Linked DNA regions of Homo sapiens: region 1 is linked to region 2. The links are contacts of gene promoters, found by promoter capture Hi-C in human tissues and cell types (Jung and others, 2019). All regions are on one chromosome and are shown on one strand. The core of a region is centred on a gene start or on the middle of the fragment in contact, and the rest is flanking DNA. Distances in the headings are between cores, read along the strand shown. Region 1 overlaps GLRX5 (glutaredoxin 5). Region 2 holds the start of TCL1B (TCL1 family AKT coactivator B).

What was found. The method cuts DNA at HindIII sites, captures the fragments that hold promoters and counts their contacts. A contact is called where the count stands out against the background at its distance.
Region 1: a contact is called between a fragment that was not itself captured here and the fragment with the promoter of TCL1B in region 2, in 1 of the 25 tissues and cell types used here (lymphoblastoid cells).

What each region holds. Positions count from the first base shown.
Region 1 is chr14:95,540,379-95,544,522 of GRCh38, forward strand. It overlaps GLRX5 (glutaredoxin 5), which reads left to right. Exons shown (of 2, transcript NM_016417.3): 2 at 3,569-4,144. The coding sequence ends at 3,747. Among named protein-coding and RNA genes, the nearest start is that of GLRX5, 7.4 kb to the left of the region's middle. The HindIII fragment of the contact is 4,983 bases long and covers 1-4,144 here.
Region 2 is chr14:95,684,975-95,689,428 of GRCh38, forward strand. TCL1B (TCL1 family AKT coactivator B) reads left to right here and starts at 1,452. Exons shown (of 4, transcript NM_004918.4): 1 at 1,452-1,655. The coding sequence starts at 1,494. The HindIII fragment of the contact is 12,005 bases long and covers 1-1,680 here.

The DNA.
Region 1 (4,144 bases), core at 933-3,432, 140 kb before region 2:
AGATATCATGGAATCTTCATAATATGTGAGGCGTAGAGTATATTCCCATTTTACAGATGAGGAAACTGAGGCTAAAAGATTAACAGATTTGTCTGAGGCTACATTTACAGGCTAGCAAACCAGATCTACTGATCCTTAAGCCTGTGCCTTGCCCACTCTGCCCCGTGCCTTGCTTTTCCTCTAGTGAGGGTCTACTGATTTCCGTGCTTTCAGCTCAGATCATCTTATCTCGACTTAACGCCATTCTCTAAATTAGAGAATATGAAGAAATTGTGACTCTCAGAGGTGGTGTAACTTGCCCAAGATCACAGAGTCTAGTAGGTAAGAGACAGAGTTGGAACTCATATCAGATTCTGAAGCTACTGTAGTGAGGTTCTACCAGGAAAAATAAAAAGAAAGAAAACTATGATTATGCTGCTCTCGTAATTTAGTGTCCAAATCAGGAGTAATGCCCAGTGTTCTGAATGTGATGAATTTTGAAAAATACCTTTTGAAAGTTCTGGAAGGGAATTTTAAAGTATCATTTCTGTACTCTTTCTGGGTTGATACTTTGGAATATGAATTTGTTTGTATGGGTTTTTTTGGTGGAGCATTAGATGCGTGTAAACTGACTTTGTAAGATAGCCTCCTAACTCCCAGTTCCTAGTGTTACTCTGCCATATAACTTTGCAGTCAGCATTTTCTGCCCCAGATGGAATCACCACCGTCTATCACATATGAAATAATGATTATCATTAAAATTCATTCTTGGATGTGATTTTCTAATTTTCAGGAGTAGCTCTCTGATTCTGAGTTAATTTCAAGTGATATTTGTAAGAACTACCACTGCATATTGCAGTTTTTGAAAACTAAAGTGTGAGAGAGATTAACCATGTGTAAACAGTTACTTGTGGATCCGCAGGATTCATTTTAATATTCAACTTATGAAGAGTAGTCTTTTATTATTATTAGGAGTTTCTCACTTCACTCTATAGGAAGCAATTGGGTATTTCCTTAAATATTTAAACTGGTAATCAACTTTCTTAAAAATGGAAAAGAGCATAGTCATTAAGAAGGGTGCCAACGTTTGGCCTTGATGCCAGCTGCCTATTACACCTATTCATCTAAAAATTAAAGAAGCAGCTAAGTTTAATTTTGATAAACCGTCAGCTGCTGTCAAGAACAGGCAGGTGGCTCATGAGAAGTTAGTATCACTTGCATGTGGCTGTGTGTGTTGGGTGTTGAGAATGTCTGAAAGCCTGCTTGTTTTGATAATTTTGGTGGTAAGGATTCTGGGGGTCTCCCCTTCTCTCGTAGTCAGGACATATGATCAACAGCAACATAAAGTTTAATCAATGAGGCAAGCCCAATGCTTCGATTGAGTGTGATACTATAAAAGTGATTGATGAAAAGCAATTTTACTTTAAAAACATGTATTTTTTGGGTAAAACATGTAGTTTTGGGTAGTTCTCAGGCAGCAAACATTTCCATTTTTGGTGTGTTTCAGAAATTATAGACATCCATCAAAATAAATCAGTAAAAATTGATTATCATGGAAAGCTTCACACAATATATTATTCATTGAAACAAAACAGGTCGTTCATGCACATAAATGATTCATTTGTATAAAAGGTATTTAAGAAAGTTGAAGATAATGAAAAGAAGCTCACGTTTACTTTAAATATTTCTTAATTCTCGCACCCAGCTCTCAGTCATCATAAAGGTAAAAGTTTTGTAATCGGCATCATTGTAAAAAGTGAGTTTTGATAGACTTTGTATTTGAGGACAGAGTTTGAAGAAAGTAAAAAAACACACAAATTATGCTAGTTGTTTTTGTTGATGGAGCATCAAACATCACCATGATGAACAACTTGAATTCATCAGGGTATTCTACTATGTCTAGATATTTGGCATTATAAAGACATTTTGATGATTAATGGAATTTACCCTTTATTGGCAGCTGCCAAAGAGCTAGCTGTTGTTTCTTTACTAGCACCCAGAGTGGCTGAGAGGTGTCCTTTTGGAGGCCTAGAGCAATGTAACCCTTTCTTAATATGTGAAGTCTGGAGAAGGAAGATAAAGCCCTTGGTTCAGGGGCTTTCTTTAGGGCTGTCATTTAGAGCAAAGTCAGTTTTTTTAATAAGGCAATAACTTTTAAGAAAAAAATAAATAGTATATTGGGACTTGTGATATAACTGAAATCAGTAATTTTATTTGGAAAATGTTTGATAATAAATTATAGGGTATCAAGAGCAAGTTTTTGTATTTTTAGTTTGTTTACATAAAAATCGATTTGTGTAAACTGTACTGGACTTGAACAATCTGTTGACTTTTCCGTTTTGTTTATCCATATGCTCATTTTGGCCATTTAAAAATATCTATCTATGTAAATATAAAAGTGTCACATAAGTGTTAGTTATTATATGCCATGCTTTGACCATCTTCGTTTTTAACATGACCAATACAGGCTTTTTAATGGCCGACTATGTTTTTGAAAGCACAGTCATCTCAACATACAAGTAGAAAAGGAAGTAGACTGATGAAGAGGAATGTTAAGAGTAATCTTTTATGTCTTAAGATTGAAGCCACATTTCTTTCTTACCATTTTGTTACAGTCATCATCCTTGTGGCTCAGAATTGAACAGAGTAGTTGCACAGCTGCGCTGTCACAGAGTGTCCCTCATCTCATGTGTGTCCTCAGAGCCATTTGCACACAGGACTGATCACATGCATGCTGGTTGGTTTCTTGGCTGCTGTGAGCGCTTAAGAGCAGAGCGGGTCTCACTCCCCCACCCCTCAGCCCTGGACAGGGACCTTGCTGAGCTCTGGGCCTTCATTAGACTCACCAGTCACTTCGGGTTCTGCACAGAGCCTCATCATCCACTCCACAGAGAGCCCATCACAGTGGCTGGATAGATGGGAACTGACAACCCATAGCTGTGGGACAGGGATTTTTCCCTGGGTAAAAGTAATTGTTAAAAATTAAAAAAAAAAAAAACTCAACAACTCATCATCTCGAGGAGAAGTGACTGACGGCCTGCACCAACTTAGACAGTCACAGTCATGAAAAGTGCACAGGTGGGATTGCCCGAGTTGGCCATGAATTACCGTGATGGATCCATTTGGAAATGAAGTTGGTTGTGACATTTCTTCAAGTTTTGTTTCGCTTGAAGCTTGACTGGTAGATGGAGAATTTTGGCCTTATGTATCTTATGTGACTTGCATTACCCAGTCCAGTCCTCTGCCATTAATCTAAGGTCCGCAATGTATCAGGTATTTTACTGAGAATCTTGCTTACCTAATTCTCACAAAAAAAAAAACCTTGGGAGATGAGGGTGGAAACAGGATGAGAGGTCAGGTGACTTGTCTGAGGGCTGACGGTTTGTAATTGGAAGAGTCAGGGCCTAACCACTGGTCTCTTTGACACAAAAACTCATGCTCTTAGTGGCAAGCACAGTGTTCTCAAGATTGGGGGAAGCCAGGGAGGGACAGTGGGTTGTCTGCTACTAGTGGGTCAAAATTACATATTTAGTCATGAATGGTTCAGCTTTTACCATTTAAATAACAAATAAATGTTCTTTCTCCATAGGCATTAAAGACTATTCCAACTGGCCCACCATCCCGCAAGTGTACCTCAATGGCGAGTTTGTAGGGGGCTGTGACATTCTTCTGCAGATGCACCAGAATGGGGACTTGGTGGAAGAACTGAAAAAGCTGGGGATCCACTCCGCCCTTTTAGATGAAAAGAAAGACCAAGACTCCAAGTGAGGGCGGCCAAGTCCTCGCTGAGCAGAGAGGGAGCCGTTCATGTCAGAGACTCACTGCCAGAAAAGCCTTACCCATTTTGGTTTTCACTATTGAGACCGCAACTGCTTGCACTGATCATTTTGGTTCGTGAGCAGTTGGTGATTTTAGTTGGTCTGGTGTTCGGGCTAAGAATATTTTATTGTGGACTTAATTACAACCACTGCACTGTAATGATTCAATGCTGTATTATGATATTGCTGTAAACAAAATTCATTCTTATATTGTCACTTATTCTTTGCCTGATTCAGAAGTTAAATAGGAGCTTTGGAATCATTATTCATGACCCCTCTGCAAATGTGTCAGTCTCCAAAGAGAGTATCTCCCCCCAAATTTTGTGTAGCTTCTTTTGTTATGGAAA
Region 2 (4,454 bases), core at 202-2,701:
GTGTCAGGCTTTAACACTATACACACAGCCTCATCTGATCCTCAGAGGAGTCCCATAGGGTAGGTACCTACAGCAAACAGGCTTCAGGGGGGCCCAGGAGACCAGGGGTCCCCATGATCCCTGCCTCCTGGTATTCATAACCTTGAGTAAGGATAGGACCTACCCCTGACCAATGGAATATGGCAAAGGTGACACACGTACGTGATTCCATGTATGGATCACATTATATGAGACTGTGATGTCCCTTGTCTTCCTGGCCCACTCCATTCCCACCCCAAGTGTTGGTTCCTTGGAAAAACACTGGGGATGGAGGTGGAATTGCTGTGAAAACAAGACTCAGTCCTCCACAGAAGCTGCCCAGGGAGTTCTTCAAAAGTGGTTATCCTACCTGCCATTTACACTGGATCAGGACTGTCCAGAAATCATTTTCACATCTCCCCAGCAGAATGGCATCATCTCAATACTAATCTTCACTTGAACTAGAAGAATCATGCTTGTGGTTTTCAAAAGGAAAAGGTTCCTATTCATGGTGCATTTAGAAGCAGCCCAGGGTGCTTATAGAACGGACCTGCTTCTTGCTATGTTCTTGAGCTTCTGAGGCCTCTTGACAAAGTCGAGCAAGTAAGACGACCAGGCCAAGTGGGCACTCTGGGCCCCATGGCCAAGGATGGGCTGGCCAGGTGGCCACGTGGCCTCCGGTGGCCTTGTTTCTGTGGGCTTTATCTGATCCTGAGCTCAGATGCTGATAGTGCACTGGCTTATTTTCTAAGGAGAGGGAGCTTGATTTGTGCAGGATGCGCCTTCACCAGATACCTCCAGGGGCAAGAGTCCACTGAGGTTACAGCGCCCCCCGCCCCCCATGCCTCTAAGCTCTAAGCTCAGAGAAGGGTCCCTGACACAGAGTCCTGTTAAAGGAATGGCCACAGGGATAGGAGAGACCAGGGTCGTGCATGCCAGCTCAGGATCTGGGGCAGGATGGTTGGCAGGGGGTCGTGGGGAGCAAAGGAGGGGAATCACCTGACAGAAAATTGGGCAGGGGTGCTCAGGGAGGAGGCTGCGGAGGGACTGGGACCAGTGGAAGGGAGGTGGAATAGGTCTTAGGAGCCAAATTCCTTGCAGAGGCCTGGGGTGAAGCCTGGGCAGCTCTATCCCCGGGAGCCGCCCTTTTGCCTCCAGCAGCTGCCGGTCCAGCCACAGCCCCTCCAGGAGACCCAGGCCGGGTTCCTAACTCCGCTGCTCTTTGGCCTCGTCCCTGCCTAGCCCCTGCTGCAGGTTGCTTTTTTCCCCCCTCCTCCTCCTCCCTCCTCCCTCCTCCCTCCTCCCCCTTCCTCCTCCTCCCCCTCCTCCCCCGACTGGCCCCGCCCCCACTGCCGGCCCCGCCCCCACTGCCGGCCCGGGCCCCACCCACGCCGGAGCTGCTCCATTTAAGGAGATTGCGCAGCTGGAAAGCTACACGTGTGAGCCTAGAGGCGGGTCCCGGTTGCAGACTTGCCATGGCCTCCGAAGCTTCTGTGCGTCTAGGGGTGCCCCCTGGCCGTCTGTGGATCCAGAGGCCTGGCATCTACGAAGATGAGGAGGGGAGAACCTGGGTGACTGTGGTCGTGCGGTTCAATCCCTCGCGTAGGGAATGGGCCAGGGCCTCCCAGGGCAGCAGAGTGAGTCCTGGGCACGAGGGGAGGCTGTGGGGAGGGCTGCGCACTGACCCCTGCCCGTGTGGGACCGCGGTGGGGGTCAGAGGGGGCCGTTCTCACCCGCACTGGAAAACTCACTTCTGTGCAGGTCTAGGAGCGCAGCAATGTCCATGCCCAGCCCTGGCCCCAGGAACACCCCCCGTAAAGGGACCACAGGCACAAGCTTATCCACATGAGATAATGTGGTCCTGCGTGGTGAAGCCGAGGCTAAGGTAGCTCAGGGCTTAGTGCCATTCCCAGTGCCTGCTGGGAAGGCCCACAAATGGGGCAGCTATTGAGCTGGGCTTTGTGGGATGAGTAGGAGTTCTCCAGGTCTAGAAAGGAGGCAGGAGTAGTATAAGCAAAAGCATTGCAGCCTGGAGGCACCAGGTGGGCCAACAGGATGAACATGACATTGGTGTCAGATTACTGATCTGCAAAATGAGAATAATATACCTCTGTGGCAAGCTAGTCACAGACATGCTCACATACATGGCTCACCGCCTGAATGGCCTGGGGAAGCATTTGACTGATAACAGATTCTGGAAATTAATTCAGGAGGCTTGGGTGGAGTCCTAGATTCTTTACTTTTCAAAAGCTCCCCAGGTGATAATGATAATGACTCAGGAAACGGCTGTAGATGAGGGCTTTAGATCACAGCCAGTCTTTGAGGGATGAAGTAAATACAGTAGCGTTTCTGGTGTGGGTGGCGGTGGGGAATTGATTCCAGGACCGACTGTGGATGCTCAAGTCCCTGATAGAAAATGACCTGGGTAGTAATTACATATAACCTCAGCGCATCCTCTACTATATTTGAAATCAGATTACTAATAACACCTAATGCTACACCTACACATCACTTCAAGCTCTGCTTTTGGGAACTTTGTGGAATTTCTTTTTTTCCCAAAATATTTTTAATCTGAGGTTAGTCGAATTCATGGGTGCAGTATCCATGGAAATGGGGGGCTGGCTGTACCTTAGTGTAATGTGGTAAAAGCATATCCGGATATTTAAAATGCCATTTAGGGCTGGGCGCGGTGGCTCACGCCTGTAATCCCAGCACTTTGGGAGGCCGAGATGGGCTTATCACGAGATCAGGAGATCGAGACCATCCTAGCCAACATGGGGAAACCCCGTCTCTACTAAAAATACAAAAAATTAGCCGGGCGTGGTGGTGGACGCCTGTAGTCCCAGCTACTCGGGAGGCTGAGGCAGGAGAATGGCGTGAACCCGGGAGGCGAAGCTTGTAGTGAGCCGAGATCGCACCACTGCACTCCAGCCTGGGTGACAGAGTGAGACTCCGTCCCAAAAAAAAAAAAAAAAAATGCCGTTTAGGTCTTCGTAAACAATTCACTGCCTGTTTGTTTGTTTTTTGAGAAAGTCTTGCTCTGTTGCGGCTGGAGTGCACTGGTGTGATGTTGGCTCACTGCAACCTCCACCTCCCAGGCTCAAGTGATTCTCATGCCTCAGCCTCCCGAGTAGCTTGGATTACAGGCGATTTTTTTTTACAGTTAATTTTTTTTGTTATTTTCAGGAGAGACAAAGTTTAATCATGTGGGCCAGGCTGGTTTTGAACTCCTGACCTCAAGTGATCTGCCCACCTTGGCCTCCCAAAGTGCTGGGATTACAGGTGAGCCACCTCGCCCAGCCAGTTCACTGACACTTTAAACAATATAACACATTTCCTAAAAAAAGTTCAAATAGGTTATTTCAAAAAATGTTGGTAGAGAACATGGAAAGGCTTTTCTGTACATACACTAAATAAAGCATGCAAAAATTGTGGAGCAAATATTTTAAGTTTTTCAAAAGCCTGAAAAAGTGTTAATGGAGGGCACTGTAAAATGGTGCAGCCACTATGGAAAACAGGATGAGGATTTCTCAAAGAAAGAATTACGGCATAATCCAGCAATGCCGCTTCTGGATATATACCCACAAGACTCTGAAGCCGGAACTTAAGCATGTATTCATACATCCATGTTCACAGCAGTATCATTCATACTAGCCAAAAGGTGGTGGCAGCCCCAGTGTCCATTGATAGATGAATGGGTAAACAACACAAACCATGAAGTATTCACCCTTAAAAGTCAGACACACGGATGAAACTTGGAGCCATTATACTAAATGAAATATGCCAGTCACGGAAGGACAGATTCTCTTGTATGAGGTACTCAGAGTGGTCTCATTCATAAAGTGGAATGGTAGCTGCCAGGGGCTGGAGGGAGTCGAGGATGGGAAGTTAATGTTAGTAACAGGTACGGAGTCTCAGTTTGGGAAGATAAAAAGTTCTGGAGGTGGATAGTGCCGACGGTTCCACATGTCAATGCACTTAATGCCACCAAACTGTACTCTTAAAAACAGTTGGCCGGGTGCGGTGGCTCACGCCTGTAATCCCAGCACTTTGGGGGGCCGAGGCGGGCGGATCACAAGGTCAGGAGATCGAGACCATCCTGGCTAACACGGTGAAACCCCGTCTCTACTAAAAATACAAAAAAATTAGCCGGGTGCGGTGGCAGGCGTCTGTAGTCCCAGCTACTCGGGGGGCTGAGGCAGGAGAATGGCTTGAACCTGGGAGGCAGAGCTTGCAGTGAGCTGAGATCCAGCCACTGCACTCCAGCCTGGGCGACAGAGCAAGACTCCGTCTCAAACAAAACAAAGCAAAACAAAAAAAACAGTTAAGATTTTTTTTTTTTTTAAATGATTCAGTGGAAATAGAATGGATTCTTCAAATAACTTAGCCACGGGTGGGATAAGGGACCTACTTAGTAAGTATTTTTTCCCCTTCTT